2 separate regions of the Homo sapiens genome follow, and region 1 is linked to region 2. Evidence: promoter capture Hi-C in human tissues and cell types (Jung and others, 2019). All regions are on one chromosome and are shown on one strand. Each heading gives the region's core, a stretch centred on a gene start or on the middle of the fragment in contact. The rest is flanking DNA. Distances are from core to core; before and after follow the strand shown. Region 1 overlaps ZNF436 (zinc finger protein 436). Region 2 holds the start of LYPLA2 (lysophospholipase 2).

Region 1 (7,480 bases), core at 2,585-5,084, 430 kb before region 2:
GGGAAGGAAAAGGGGGTGAAATACAGTTAGGTCATGGAAATGCGGTCATCTATGGCCACTCCCAAGCTGATACCCATAGTGGCTCACAGAAGCAACAGGAGAACTTTGACATTTATTAAAACCATCAGCAACATATATGAGAAAAGACATATTTGAGTTTAGTTACCAAGAACATGTGTCACCCGACAATTAAAATATGGATACCCACAGTCTGCTAGATTTTGTAAATAACAAAAAAACATGCTCCTTGCCTGAGTTTGTCCTTAAAAAGGAGTGGCAACATGAAGGAACCCCCCTGGAAGATGGGTTACTTTAAAGGTTGTGTTATTAACAAGTGATGTGGTCCCACACAGCTGTGGGTCACAATAACTCATTATAGTACCCACCCAGAGAGACCACTGGCTCCTTTAACACCAAGTCCTAAAAAGCTATGGCAAAACATTTTTAAAATGTTACAACATTCACAATAAAGAACAGTAGCAATAAAGCACAGTAGAAATAAACTGGGGGTACTCTCAAAAGAAAAGATATTCCTCACTCCAGTCCCATTTTCTGGGCACCAATTCCCTTCCACCCCAACATGCTTGGATAGCATCAACACTTGAGATATTTCTTAATTCCTACCTGGACTGAGATTAGGAAAACTGACACTACTGGGCTTAAATTGGGCGAACTGTTATTTTAACCTCTTATATCTGTAGGGTGGGAGGATGGAAATACATTCCTACCGAGGTTCGTTAATTCCTTCTGACTAAGCCAAAGAGTTCTTCATTACCATAGAAGATAATTCATTCTGAGAATAGGACAATCGACCTATTTGTCTGGTCATTATCTTCCACAATTGACAAACACATACAAACAAGTGCTTAGCTCTGTACAAAGACAGACCTTACAGGAGAGTGCACACTAAAGCACTAGTGTTTAAATTATTTTCCATAATGAAAAAAGGACATTTCTCACATTGGAGTTATGTCTGTACTTCTGTCACATGACTCACATCACCCAAGAACATGCTAAGTCTCTGTAAATTCAGTTTCTATTAGAAAAACCACAGGAATACACATTACTGTACATACACATGCCCTGATGCAAGCTAAGATAAACACTGGGATGTGGCCCTTATCAAATCTTAGAGTTAGCAGGATAGGAAGAGTTGATCTTAAAGATTAGAAGGGAAAGAACACAGAAACGACCTACATTCCTTGGGAAGGGACTCTGTGGTTCCTTCCCTGAAGGACTCAATTCCACTTGCTCCTTACACTTAACTGTCACTGATGGTCCTATCTTTTCTTGAAGATATTTTCTATACAATATTCCCTATAGTGATCCCCAAAGAAAATTCATAAATCTGATTAATGGCAGTAATAACTGTGGGCATCTTCTGCTAAAGTCACCATCATTGATGGGTCCTTGGTCCCCAAACCTGTGTCTCATTTTTCCTTTCCAACCGTATCTTCAGTTAGCCTTCACAAAGATGCAAGCTTTAAAGGAGCTAATTAGAAACAATGAGAAGGAGAAAAGTTACAATCATTGCCTTCATCGTGCAAAATCTTGCCCTCAGGAAGATGGAAAAGATACAAATGCATGAGCAACTCAAGGAAAAAGCCCTTTGGAAGGGAAGATGTGTGTGCCCAACTACTATGGTGTGTGAATAGGTGTGGCAATTTAGGCAGAGTCTCTAGTTGCCTTTTTCCAAAGCAGCCATTACCACCCTATTACAGTCCCACGTTTCACTTAGCATAGTTCCTTGGGCCAAGGATGGGAGAAAATAACATTGAAAGATTTACTCCATTTCCAGGCCTAAGCATTCACCAGCATTTGTCCCCTGGTCTTCAGATTTCCAGTTACTTGTGGGGCTGCTTTTAATGAAGTAACCCATTGAGTGAATAAAAATCACCATTTTGGAGGAGATAACATTCCCAAAGCTGAGGGTCAGAATTTCAAATGGCTTGTCATCTCTGATGGTTTAAATCGTGGCCCACAACTAGGAGAGTATGATAAAAGCAGCTCAGTCTTGAGGGCGTTCATTGATATCAAATAAAATTGTATCTTCAAATGAATCATTTCTCAGCCATCATAATTACAGCTTAGTCCGTATGAACTCTCTTATGTTTAATAAGAGCTGAGCTCCTGCTGAAACTCTTCTCACATTCGGTACATTCATAAGGTTTCTCTCCCGTGTGAACTCTTTGATGTGTGATGAGGTTGGAGCTCTGGGTGAAACCTTTCCCACACTGCACACACTCGTAGGGCTTCTCCCCTGTGTGGGTTCTCTGATGTTTAATTAGATCTGACCTTTCACCAAAGCTTCGCCAACACTCATTACACTCATAAGGCTTCTCTCCAGTGTGAATTTTCTGGTGTGTGATGAGATGAGAGCTCCGGCTGAAGCTTTTCCCACAAGCATTGCATTCATATGGCTTCTCTCCAGTGTGAGTTCTCTGGTGCTGAACCAAGTGTGAGATGCGGCTGAAATTTTCCCCACATTCGTTACAGTGGTATGGCTTCTCTCCCGTGTGGGCTCTGCGATGACGCACAAGGTCGGAGTTCTGACTGAAATTCTTCCCACACTCATCACACTTGTAGGGCCTCTCCCCTGTGTGGACTCGATAGTGTTTGATGAGATCAGATCTCTCACTGAAGCCTCGGCCACATTCGTTACATTCATAAGGTTTCTCACCCGTGTGGGTCCTCTGGTGCTGAGCTAGGTGAGAGCTCCGGCTGAAGCTTTTCCCACACTCCTCACACTCATAGGGTTTCTCACCACTGTGGGTCCTTTGGTGTTGGATTAGGTGAGAGAGACGGCAGAAACTTTTTCCACACTCATTACATTTGTGAGGCTTCTCTCCAGTGTGGATTGTCTGATGCTGAATCAGGTGAGAACTTCTTCCAAAACTTTTCCCACACTCGTTACAGTCATAAGGCCTCTCCCCAGTATGTGTTCTTTGATGCTGAATAAGGTGTGAGCTGCGACTGAAGCCTTTTCCACATTCATAACATTTATAGGGTCTGTCTCCAGTGTGGGTCTTCTGATGTCGATTAAGGTCTGAGATCTGACTGAAGGCCTTTCCACAATGAGAACATATATGATAGCGGATGCCTGTGTGGACTTCTTTGTGGACAAGTAGATCAGTGACTGGTTGGAGAGGATAGCTTACCCACTCTTCTGCTGTTAAATCTCCCCATTGTCTTTCTGACCTATCTCCGCTTTCAAAGCCCTCTTCACTTTCAGGATTTTCCTCAGCATTCTCAGCAGGTCTTTCAGATGTAGTCCCAAATTGTACATCTTCACTAATCTCTTGCTTGGGATTTACCTCGTTCTCACTCCTGATCTCAAAATCTGTAATAAAAAGTAAACAATAAGACTAGTAAGTACAAAAATTACCTATTGTGTGCCAGGCACTATACTAAATTTTTTTTTTTTTTAGACAGAGTCTCACTGTGTTGCCTTGGCTGGAGTGCAGTGGTGTGATCTTGGCTCACTGCAACCTCTGCCTCCTGGGTTCAAGCAATTCTCCTGTCTCAGCCTCCTGAGTAGCTGGGACTACAGGTGCACGCCACCATGCCCGGCTAATTTTTTTATTTTTAGTAGACACAGGGTTTCACTATATTGGTCAGGCTGGTATTGAACTTCTGAGCCACTGTGGCCAGCCTAAATTATTTATATTCTTCGTCACATATATTCTTTATCACAGCTATTCTGAGAGTCAGGAATTGTGATTATTTCTACTTCATTAATGAGAAATCCAAGACCCAGACAAGTGAATTGACTTGCTCAAGGCCATAGTAAATGGTAGAGCCAGTATTCAAACTCAGGTCTGTCAAAATTCACATTCTGTATCGCTGTAATTAATGATTCATTAAGAAAACTATACAGGCCAGGTGCCGTGGCTCACGCATGTAATCCTAACACTTTAGGAGGCCAAGTCAGGAGGAACACTTAAGGCCAGGAGTTCAAGACCAGCCTGGGCAATATAGGGAGAACCCATCTCTACAAAAAAATTTAAAAAATTAGGTGGATGTGGTGGCATGCAACTGTAGTCCCAGCTACTCAGGAGGCTGAGGTAAGAGGATCACTTGAGCCCAGGAGTTCAAGGCTGCAATAAGCTGTGATTGTGCCACCGCACACCAATATGGGTGACAGAACGAGACCCTGTCTCTTAAAAAAAAAACTATATATATTCGTGTTTTGAAAGAACACTGGAAGCAGAAAATATGAGACTCTAAATTAGAATATCTAAAAGGCAAGATTCTAGGTATTTTGTGAGTATGTATTTTTTAACTTGCCAAGCCTTCATCATTAGTAGCATCATAAAATATTTACTAAGAAGCCACTATGTTTTTGTTTGTTTGTTTGTTTTGTTTTGTTTTTTGAGATGGAATTTCACTCTTGTTGCCCAGGCCGGAGTGCAATGGCGCAATCTCCGCTCACTGTAACCTCTGCCTCCTGGGTTCAAGCGATTCTCCTGCCTCATCTTTCCGAGTAGCTGGGATTACAGGTGCCCGCCACCACATCCAGCTATTTTCTTGTATTTTTAGTAGAGACAGGTTTTACCATGTTGGCCAGGCGGGTCTTGAACTCCTGATCTCAGGTGATCTGCCCGCCTCAGCCTCCCAAACTGCTAGGATTACAGGCGTGAGCCACCGTGCCTGGCCAGAACCAACTATGTTAATATGGAGAAAAATGAATCTTTACCTATGTCATAGTTGACAGAAAAGTGACTGACAAATGTCACTTCCTACTTTTCAGTGACCTTTTAATGAAAATAGGAGTGGGAAAGTTGAAGAAGGCAAAAAAGATGTCTGGCTGAGAACATTCTTGGCATTGTCTAAGTATATTTCACATGCAGTCTTCAAATGAAAATCAAAATACACAACCACTGTCTACAAGGAGTTTTATACCAGACACTGCATTCTCCAAATTGGGTTTCTTAGTACACTCTTCAGAAAGAAAGTATGTATTTTGGGAGAAAAGGGTTCATGGATAAACTGGGTTGGTAAATGGTACATACAATATCATTTCCTTCAAAATTCACAATGCCTAATAACACATTAAAGGTTCTAAGGAATCCTGAGGTAAAAAGGCCTTATAAGGCCAGATGCAGTAGCTCAGGCCTCTAATCCCAGCACTTTGGGAGGCTGATGCAGGAGGATCACTTGAGCCTAGGAGTTTGAGACCAGCCTGTGCAACATAGGGAGGTCTCACTTCTATTAAAAATAAAAAGAGGCAGGCCGGGCGCGGTGGCTCACGTCTATAATCCCAGCACTTTGGGAGGCCGAGGTGGGCAGATCACGAGGTCAGGAGATCGAGACCATCCTGGCTAACACGGTGAAACCCCATCTCTAAAAAAAAAAAACGCAAAAACTAGCCGAGTGTGGTGGCGGGCACCTGTAGTCCCAGCTACTCAGGAGGCTAAGGCAGGAGAATGGCGTGAACCTGGGAGGCAGAGCTTGCAGTGAGCTGAGATCGCGCCACTGCACTCCAGCCTGGGCAACAGAGCAAGACTCCATCTCACAAAAAAATAAATAAATAATAAAAAAATAAAAAGAAGCTGAGCATGGTGCCTGACACCTGTATTCCTAGCACTTTGGGAGGCCGAGGTGGGCGGATCACTTGAGGTCAGGAGTTCAAGACCAGCCTGACCAACATGGTGAAACCCCGTCTCCACTAAAAATACAAAAATTAGCTGAGCGTGGTGGCATGCACCTGTAATCACAGCTAGTCGGGAGGCTGAGGCAGGAGAATTGCTTGAACTCAGGAGGCAGAGGTTGCAGTGAGCCAAGATTGGGCCACTGCACTCCAGTCTGGGCAACAGACTGAGACTCTGTTTCAAAAAAATTAATTAATTAATTAATTAATTTAAAATTTTTTAAAAAATAAAAAGAATTAGCCGGGCAAGGTGGTACGCATCTGTGATCCCAGCTACTCAGGAAGCTGAGATGGGAGGATGACCTGGGCCTGGGAAGTCAAGGCTGCAATGAGTTGTGATCGTGCCACTGCACTCCAGCCTGGGCAACAGAACAAGATCCTGTCTCAAAAAAAAAAAAAAAAAAGCCTTGTAATCATTTTTAAACCCATTCCCATTCCCAAACTTATTTGGGCAAGAAACCAGTTTTTTGGCGCTTTCATCCTTCTAACAAGTGCTTTTGGGGCTAAACTGTAGAATTGTAAATTCACATTTTTTAAAGATTGTCATTTTTTGCTTTTGTTGGATTCAGTGGAATATTTGGGTTACAGACTGCAATAGATCTGGATAGATAACTATTTATGGTTACTTTTATAAAGAAAGGATTCAAGAAACTAGGGACATCAGAGAAAGCTCAAGTTAAAAAGGAAAGCCCTCAGAGTTGCCTTTTGTTCTGAAAAAGGCTATGGGAATAAAGATTTCAAAAACAGGATTAATCCTAATGAATGGCAAATGACCTAGTGACCCATACACGCTTGCTAATGTCTGTCAAGTCTTGACAGGAGGCAAAGTGAGGCAAAGTGAGTCAAAAGACCGTTCAGCTCAAGAATATACTCTTTATTCTAGTTACACCCAGACCAAAGTACAGCAAAGAGAGAAGACAGGCTTGCAGACCATGAAAAAAAAATCAGCTGCCCTCTCTAATAGAATTTGTGATCTATTTCAGCATTCTTCTGGAACAGCATTTGACACACTACAAATCTATCATCATCAACACTGAAACATCTCTAGATGAGAATCTACTCAGCTAAGGAACTTGAGGCAAAGCTAGGGCTCTGAAGCCAAAACAAACACAAAAAGGTGGCTTTCGCCCTCCCATGAACCTGGGTTAGAATCCCCTCATCTTTTAGCACCCTAGAGTAAAAGCACTAGTTACGGGGCATTTATATTCTGGCAAGCACTATTATGCCAGACCTGTTTGGTCAGTGATCTGTACAAACAGGCTGGAGATTGGAAAATGACTCAGGGCACAAGAAATCTGAACGTCTAAGACGTGCAGAAGCAGTTTTTTTCTTTTTAGACAATATGACCTGGATGTTCCCATATTCAAAGATCTGCCTGAGGACTCAAGTCAAGCCAATATCCAATTAAGTGCTTTAAAAAATCAAACCACTAGGCTGTGTTGAAAGAACTAAGTCATTTTGACACGATCTCAAAAACGTGGAGGCAAAGAAAGGTAGAATCCTTACTTACCTAGTGAGACAACATTTCCATAATTCTCCTGCATAACATCCCGGTAAAGGTCCCTCTGTGCAGCGTCCAGAGGTCTCCATTCTTCCCGGGTGAGATACATGGCCATATCTTCAAACGTCACAGGTGCCTGAAATCACACGATACTTCCCTACTATTCTGTATTTAGGACTTCTTGAAATTAGAAACATGATTAGAAATATTCAGGAGGAAAAATATATTAAATGTGACCTATAGAGTCCAAATAAGAAATAAACAAGCAAAAAAGAGATGTGGTAAAGAAGGCAGCAATTTATGAGCTGATTGCTCTGGTCCCATGGCCA
Region 2 (7,603 bases), core at 3,373-5,872:
ACTCCCAGTTTATTATTTTTCTTGGTTTTATCAGTATAAACTTTTCGTCTCATTTGAGAAACTACAGGTATTTTTAAGGGGGTTGAAACTGTTATTTTTATATAAATAATATATATAATATATATATATATATCTCAGCTCACTGCGACCTCCGCCTCCCAGGTTCAAGTGATTCTCCTGCCTCAGCCCCCCAAGTAGCTGGGATTACAGGTGCCCACTCCCACGCCTGGCTAATTTTTTTGTATTTTTAGTAGAGACAGGGTTTCACCATGTTGGCCAGGCTGGTCTCGAACTCCTGACCTCAGGTGATCTGCCCATCTCAGCCTCCCAAAATGTTGGGATTACAGGTGTGAGCCACCTTGCCCAGCCTGAAATTGTCATTTATATTAATTCACAGTTTTCTACTTTCAAATGCTTTCATTGAGTATTTTTGATAATCTTTTCTATTCATGAACCAGGGATAAGATAATACCATAGACAAGTTCCTATTCTCATGGTACCCCCATTATAGTAGGGAGACTGAATCTTCAAAGTTACAGGGTGAATCAATGATAATGATCTTTGCAGCTTTCTGGAGTTAAAAAGTATCAAAATTGGGAGATATTAGATGATGACATCTAAGTATTAAAATAAGGAGATATTAAATGATGACTCCTAGAAATGAACCTGAATAAGGACTACCGCAATGTGTGTGGTGTGGGAAAGGACAGTTCTTTTAATGGCTGGCTGACCCAGCCTCAATTTTCTTGCAGCTTCGCCGACACGAGGTGACCATCTGCAATTACGAAGCATCTGCCAACCCAGCAGACCATAGGGTCCATCAGGTTACCCCACAGACACACTTTATTTCCTAAGGGCTGGCCAAGGCTCCCATAGAGGCGCTGTGTCAGTGAAGATGTACGACTACCTGTTGGGAAGGACAAAGGGATGAGGCTCCAGAGAGAGTTGGCTGCCACAGCCTCTGCCAAGCTTTGTCTTTGGGGCTTGCTGCAGAAACCTGGCCTACGGAAGATACGACACCACTGGGAGGGTTGTGTAGGTGCCAGGGGACCATCGTGGTTCTCTAGGGCGCTGTGGAAATTGGGTCTTGGGCTGGGTGGCATCTGGCAGTCATGGGTAACACTTGCTTTTCCAGTTAATGTGGCCATGTGATTCCAAGTGTCATGTTGCTTTGTGGCAAGATTGTTGTGTGACTTGTTTTTTTGTTTTTGTTTTTGTTTTTTTAAAGGAAACTATTTGTGGGCTATAGGAAACTTTCTGATGCCTCCGGATTGTGTTAGTAGTAGCCATCAGGAGGGTCTCCAACTAAAACACTTGTTCCTGCTTGCTCCTTTCCCCTCTCATTGTTCAGCATTCTTGTCAAGTTGCCCAGCTTGGAGTTGTCTGTCACGCACATGTGTCCTGTGGTTATAGCTAGAAGGACAGGAGTCTCCTGCTGATGCGTGATAGCTTAAGCTTGGGGAGAAGGTCTTTTCCACTGCCTAGCTAAGCAGTCTGGGGAGAGCATGGGGATCATTTCTATGTGTGTGGGTAATCTGGTCAGTAAGATTGAGACTTAGTTAAGATTCCCCTTGGAAATTCCTTAATGTTTATTAGCTTCTAACTAGTGTTGTAAGTCCGATGCCAGAATTTGGAGATTTGAGTTCTTCTTTTCATGGCTTTTATTCACTGTGACTAATAAGCTTCCTAATAAATCCTTGCCAGACTTAATGTTTGTATTTTCTTTTGAGTTCTTGATAGCCACTGATGCAACTTTCATTTCATGGGGAACTGTACTGAACTTTGAAATTTTTTGTTGTTGTTTTGGACTAGGTAGATTATAGGAAGTGCCACAATTAAATCAAGACTGGAGCCGGGCGCGGTGGCTCACGCCTGTAATCCCAGCACTTTGGGAGGCCGAGGTGGGCGGATCACGAGGTCAGGAGATCGAGACCACGGTGAAACCGTCTCTACCAAAAATACAAAAAATTAGCCGGGTGCGGTGGCGGGAGCCTGTAGTCCCAGCTACTCAGGAGGCTGAGGCAGGAGAATGGCATGAACCCGGGAAGCGGAGCTTGCAGTGACCTGAGATTGCACCACTGCACTCCAGCCTGGGTGACAGAGTGAGACTCCGTCTCAAAAAAAAAAAAAAAAAAAATCAAGACTGGATCAGTTTCTCCAGGAATGGTCAAGCTTAATTTTGTACAGTAGGCCAAAAACACTCCTACACCCATATATAGTAAAGAAGAAGGTGGGGTTGAAAACCTGTATTTCACAGAAATTAACTGGGCATGGTGGCGTGCACCTGTAGTCCCAGCCACTTGGGAGGCTGAGGTGGGAGGATCACTGGAGCCCAGGAGGTCGAGGCTACAGTAAGCCATGATTGCGCCACTGCACCCCAGCCTGAGGCAACAGAGTGAGACCTTGTCTCAAAACAACAACAACAAAACCCTATATTTCATTTTGCACAAAAGGAAGTGATTTGTAGAATGACATTTACAAAAATAAGGGAGAACAGATTTTGGAGCTCATCAGAAGAAATGAGGGTGAGGAAAGTAATTGAGCAGCTCATGTGGTCTCCAGGTAGACCAAAGACTTTGGACTTAAATTTTGAAAGTCAGTTTAGCAATTGAAGAGAATGTAAGTATCTAAAAAGGGGATTTGATATGGTCAGTATTCTCTCCCTTGCAGAAAACAGGAACAGGTAATAAAGGGAATTAGTGTTGAATCTGATCCTTTTGGGAGAATTCCTCTGAGGCATTGGCCCATGCTGTTGTTTGGAGGATATAGCCACTGTTTCTCCAGCCTGTCCTAGGAAAGGTCTGCTACCACCAAACCTTGTTGGCCCTCAAAATTTCTAAAATGCAGCCTGAAATAAACCAGAATGCAAATGCTGTTCTTGAAAAGCATGAAGGGTCCTATTCACTCAGCCACAGCCTCTTTATTTCAGTTGGATCATTTTTTGGAGTTAAAAGAAGGGCTATGTTTAAATTTGGAGTAGGGGGAAAAATAAAGTTAAAAATCTTAGAGCAGACTAGCCCTTCACTAATTCCACTAATTAAAGCATTAATCACAGCTCCTGGGACTGAGCCTCTGAATTTGAAGCTTCACTCTGAAGAATTTGTTTTAAGTGTCATGGTGTCTCAGGTGATCGAGGTTGCAGGAGGAACTGTTCATTCTTCCATAAGTGGGGACATTACCCTCCATTTTCTTTTGACATTCAGTCCTGGGTCCTTGGCTTGTGGTGGTCCCATAGGCTCAAAGGTTTCCTGCCCCGAATCCTGGTATTGTAGGCTCCCTGACCTGTTGAGTACTTAGGACCAAAGTGCCTCTGGGCCTGGGGGAAAGTGCTTTGTTGAGCTTCCAACTTTGTACTGTTTTCTTTTTCTTTTCTTTCTTTTTTTTTTTTTTTTTTTTTTGAGACAGAGTCTCGCTTTGTTGCCCAGGCTGGAGTGTAGTGGCACTATCTTGGCTCACTGCAAGCTCCGCCTCCCGGGTTCACGCCATTCTCCTGCCTCAGCCTCCCCCCGAGTAGCTAGGACTACAGGCGCCCGCCACAGCGCCAGGCTAATTTTTTGTATTTTTAGTAGAGACAGGGTTTCACCGTGTTAGCCAGGATGGTCTCGATCTCCTGACCTCGTGATCCGCCCGCCTCAGCCTCCCAAAGTGCTGGGATTACAGGAGTGAGCCACCGCGCCTGGCTGTACTGTTTTCTTTCTGTTCAAAGAAAACACTAGTATAGGTTAGGCTGGGAGAGTGAGTCCTAAGCGGCTGAGGGTCAAGTGTGACTCATTTCCTATTTGCAGATCCCCACACATTCTCAGGGACATGCTCCTTCAACTCAGTTTGCCTGCCTTCTGACTTTTCTGTGGTCCCTGATACCTATTTCCACTTCAGCTTGATGGCAGCGTTTTGTGCACTGTCTGCATGACATTGCTTGTGAAGGGCAGCGCTAACACTGCCAGTGCCTGTCCAGCTCTCCTGATACGGCCTTTGTATTTTTCCTAGGTCCTTTTTTGCGTGATTAACACCTCACGCTGTGATTTTACTGTATAAACCATGTTCACACAACCTCATTTAAGCCTACCAACAAAGCTGTGAAGGAGGCAGGGTGGTTATTACCATTTTATATATCAGGAAGCAGATCCAGAGAGGCAGAATTTAAATGGAATCCCGAGGTTGCTGTTTACATGCCTTCCTTGAGCCTCAGTTTCCCCATCTTCAAGGCTGGAGAACTAGATGATCTGTAAGGTCTCTTCGGTTCAGAGTGTGTCATTCCATTCATGATCCTGGAATAGGGCATGAAAGCCAGTGGCAGACACCCGAGGCCTTAAGAGGTGTGTCCCATGAGGATGGGAAGGTGGTAAAGTTTATGCAAACAATAGTGTGAGGGATGCCTCTCCTTCCGGTCGGCCCTCCTCCAGGAGGCGCATGGGTGGTGGTAGCAAGTGGGAGTCTTGGGTGCCCTGTCTCGAATCTACAAGGTGGGAGCGGGTGAGAACCCAGCGACTGCGCGGCTGAATGACAGGGAGTAGCCCCGCCGCCTCCAACATGGCAGCTTCTATCCAGCGAAGCCGGGTCCCCGCTTCCGGGTTCCGTACTGTCGGCCAGGCTACTTCCGGCAGCGCGATGGCTGGGTTCCCGGGACTCGAACGGAAGTTCCGGCGGGGGCGGCCGAGGGGGAAGAGTGTGTCTGCGGGAGAAAGAGGAGAATCGCCCAAGCGGCCTCGGAAGTCCCAGGGAGTGGAGGTACCCAGCCGGCGGCTGCGGAGGATGGGCGTGTAGGGGGAGGTCGGCCTCGGGAGGGTCCCGGAGAGCGGGGAGGGGGAACCGTGATGGGGGGGATGGGGGTGGGGAGTGAGGTGCGAAGGCGCTGTCCAGTCTTGGGGACTTCGGGAGTGGAGCGGGGCTAGGCAAGGGGGTGTCTGAGTATAAAGAGACAGACTTCAGGGTCGGAAATAGAAGAGCCCATTGTGGGGCGGGGGCTTCCCCAGAGTCAAAGGTACAAAGCTTTATTGTGGGCAGGTGGGAGTCCTGGGTCAGGGTAGAAAATTTCACTGGGTAGGGTGACCTTTGGTCAGAACAGAAGTTCCCATTGTGGGGAGCGGGAGATCCTGGGTCAGGGTGGAAGTTCTCAAGGTGTATAGAGAGAGACAGGTCAGGGGGAAGGCACCCCTCCGAGGAGGGAGCCTGGGCGGGAGGTGCAAGTCCCCACGGTGGAGAAGGAAGGGAATCGCAGCTCAGGGCAGGAGGTGCATTCCCCATGGGAAGAGGAACCCCGGGTCACAGGTGAACGATCCCATTGTGGGGAGCTGCCCTCAGGGGTCAGAGATGGAAGGTGAGGCCAGTTGGGAGGGGTGGGCAGGCACTTGAGGCAGGTAGTGGAAGCTTCCGGCGAGTTTGGAGGACGCCGAGGATGGGGAGGGGCCAGCCAGCCTGACATTCTTTTGTGTGTTTGGGAGTCCCAGAGCGTGGTCAAGCCAGGGCTCGTTTGCAGTCAGTGGCAGCAGCAGCAGGTAGCTCCGTTTAGGGGGGGCGTGGAGCACCAGTTTGGGGGTGGGTGGAGTTCTTACGCTTTCTGGGGACATGGGCAGCCCCCTGGGGGTCTGGGAATGGATGGGCCAGAAACTGCTGTGAAGGCTGGATGGGGGCTGGGTGGGGGGAGGTTGAGATGGGGGTTGGAGGCGGCACTGAGTAGGGGATGGAAGCTCCTTTCCCTGGCACTTTTCTCTCCATTTCCCATAGGGCCCGGAGTTGGGGAGGCAGGGACCCAGGGATGATTGGAGAGGAGGGGGAAGGCACTCACCCCTGAGGAGTTAGAGGGGGAATGAAGCAGGCGTGCCGCTGCCTCCCCTCTGCCCCCTGCCCTACAGTCCCTATGCCCTGCCTCTGCCTGTCTCCAGCAAGCTCAGGTCCTGTGGTTGGGCCAGAACCAGAGACACATGTTCTGGGCCACTAGGGAGGCTGTCTCTGCCTTTCAGCCCTGGAACTGAGGCAGACTTCTTCTCCTGTGCCCTGGGACTTCTTGCTTGACTATTCTTTGTGCCCAGGACAGAACCTGGGTGCTGTGTGGGGCTGATGGCCTGGTGGCCTCTTGGGCCAGGAGTGTGTCCTGTGCCTGGTTTTGCTCTTGACCGCCGCCCCGATGTATGCAGGCCCCCGCCGTGGAGCCGTGTGGTGTATGTGTGGTAACACCATGTCTGTGCCCCTGCTCACCGATGCTGCCACCGTGTCTGGAGCTGAGCGGGAAACGGCCGCGGTAAGGGTCCCCTTTCACCCACGGCCAGACACTGTGGGAGCAGCTGGAGGACCGGCTGGAGGGGGTGTGGGAAAATGGAGGTGGCAGTGATGAGCAGGGAGTATCCTGAGGCCAGCAGGCTCGGGGTAGTAACCTGTTTGGCTGCTACCTGGGTTCCCCCAGGTCCTTGGGGGTGGGGGAGGGGTGGGCAGAAGTTGGAGGACCTAGGGGAAGCCTTCCTGTCTCCCCATTTCCCATCCTTTTCCAGGTTATTTTTTTACATGGACTTGGAGACACAGGGTAAGTGACTGAGGAGGGGTGCTCCTTAAGGAGGGGTCCTGGCCCAGCAGCGGACTGGAGAGGCCTTCTCTTCCTACCACATCGGAGCCTTTTCTCCCGTCCCTCCTACAGGCACAGCTGGGCTGACGCCCTCTCCACCATCCGGCTCCCTCACGTCAAGTACATCTGTCCCCATGCGTGAGTGTCACCCCAGCAAGGGAGGGGCTGAGGCTGGGGATCATCTGGGGGTGGTCCTGTCATCCCAGGCCTGTTCTCTCCTGTCAGTTGCATCCTGGGGCTTGGGCTCAGGGCAGTCAGAAGTGGCATTTTCAGCCTGAGCTCCTGTGGAGCCCCCAGGAGTGGGGTCCAGCACCAGCCCCCAGCCCTAGGGCCTCCTAGACCTGAGCTCTCCTAGAACCCACACCTCCCTTTGCCCCTTCCCCAAGTACTCACCGACTACCTGGGACCCCGTCACACCAAGCGCTGGGCTCTGCTTCTCCATTACTGGCGCTTTGCCCCAACCACAGCCTCCAGCCCCACGTGGCAGGTTGCCTGGCAACACCTTAAACACAGGCCCTGCCTGCTGGGAGGGGCCACCAGGGGCGGCGCGGCCCCACTCCGGGCTCTGAGCTCTGGCCTCCTCATTCCTCCTGAGCATGATGGGCCCTCTGGCTCTCTTTCCCCAGGCCTAGGATCCCTGTGACCCTCAACATGAAGATGGTGATGCCCTCCTGGTGAGTTTGGGAGTGGGGGTGGGCAGGGGGACGAGGACACTTGGGCTGAGGGAGCCACAGGGGGCTGGCTGGGGTTTTCTATAGCTGCCAGTGCCTCTACTCCCAAGGTTTGACCTGATGGGGCTGAGTCCAGATGCCCCAGAGGACGAGGCTGGCATCAAGAAGGCAGCAGAGAACAGTAAGACCCCAGCCCCTCCTCCACATCCTCCTTCCCCTGCCCCCCAGGAAAGCGCTGGGCGGTTCCTCAGCCTAGCTCCCTTATTGGGCCCCTTGGCAGCTTCCCTCTACCCACTCATGCCCCCTCCCCCAGTCAAGGCCTTGATTGAGCATGAAATGAAGAACGGGATCCCTGCCAATCGAATCGTCCTGGGAG

Evidence for each region. The method cuts DNA at HindIII sites, captures the fragments that hold promoters and counts their contacts. A contact is called where the count stands out against the background at its distance.
Region 1: a contact is called between a fragment that was not itself captured here and the fragment with the promoter of LYPLA2 in region 2, in 2 of the 25 tissues and cell types used here (mesendoderm cells and thymus).

What each region holds. Positions count from the first base shown.
Region 1 is chr1:23,359,882-23,367,361 of GRCh38, forward strand. It overlaps ZNF436 (zinc finger protein 436), which reads right to left. Exons shown (of 4, transcript NM_001077195.2): 3 at 7,161-7,287; 4 at 1-3,340. The coding sequence ends at 2,088. Among named protein-coding and RNA genes, the nearest start is that of ZNF436-AS1, 5.3 kb to the right of the region's middle. The HindIII fragment of the contact is 3,881 bases long and covers 1,895-5,775 here.
Region 2 is chr1:23,786,523-23,794,125 of GRCh38, forward strand. LYPLA2 (lysophospholipase 2) reads left to right here and starts at 4,623. Exons shown (of 10, transcript NM_007260.3): 1 at 4,623-4,728; 2 at 6,135-6,238; 3 at 6,486-6,517; 4 at 6,629-6,694; 5 at 7,183-7,230; 6 at 7,338-7,408; 7 at 7,541-7,603. The coding sequence starts at 6,161. It overlaps LOC105376860 (a long non-coding RNA gene), which reads right to left and starts at 7,010. Exons shown (of 2, transcript XR_947067.3): 1 at 6,950-7,010; 2 at 4,092-4,268. PITHD1 (PITH domain containing 1) reads left to right here. Exons shown (of 6, transcript NM_020362.5): 6 at 753-1,710. The coding sequence ends at 854. RefSeq lists a silencer at 4,801-4,860. The HindIII fragment of the contact is 2,550 bases long and covers 2,629-5,178 here.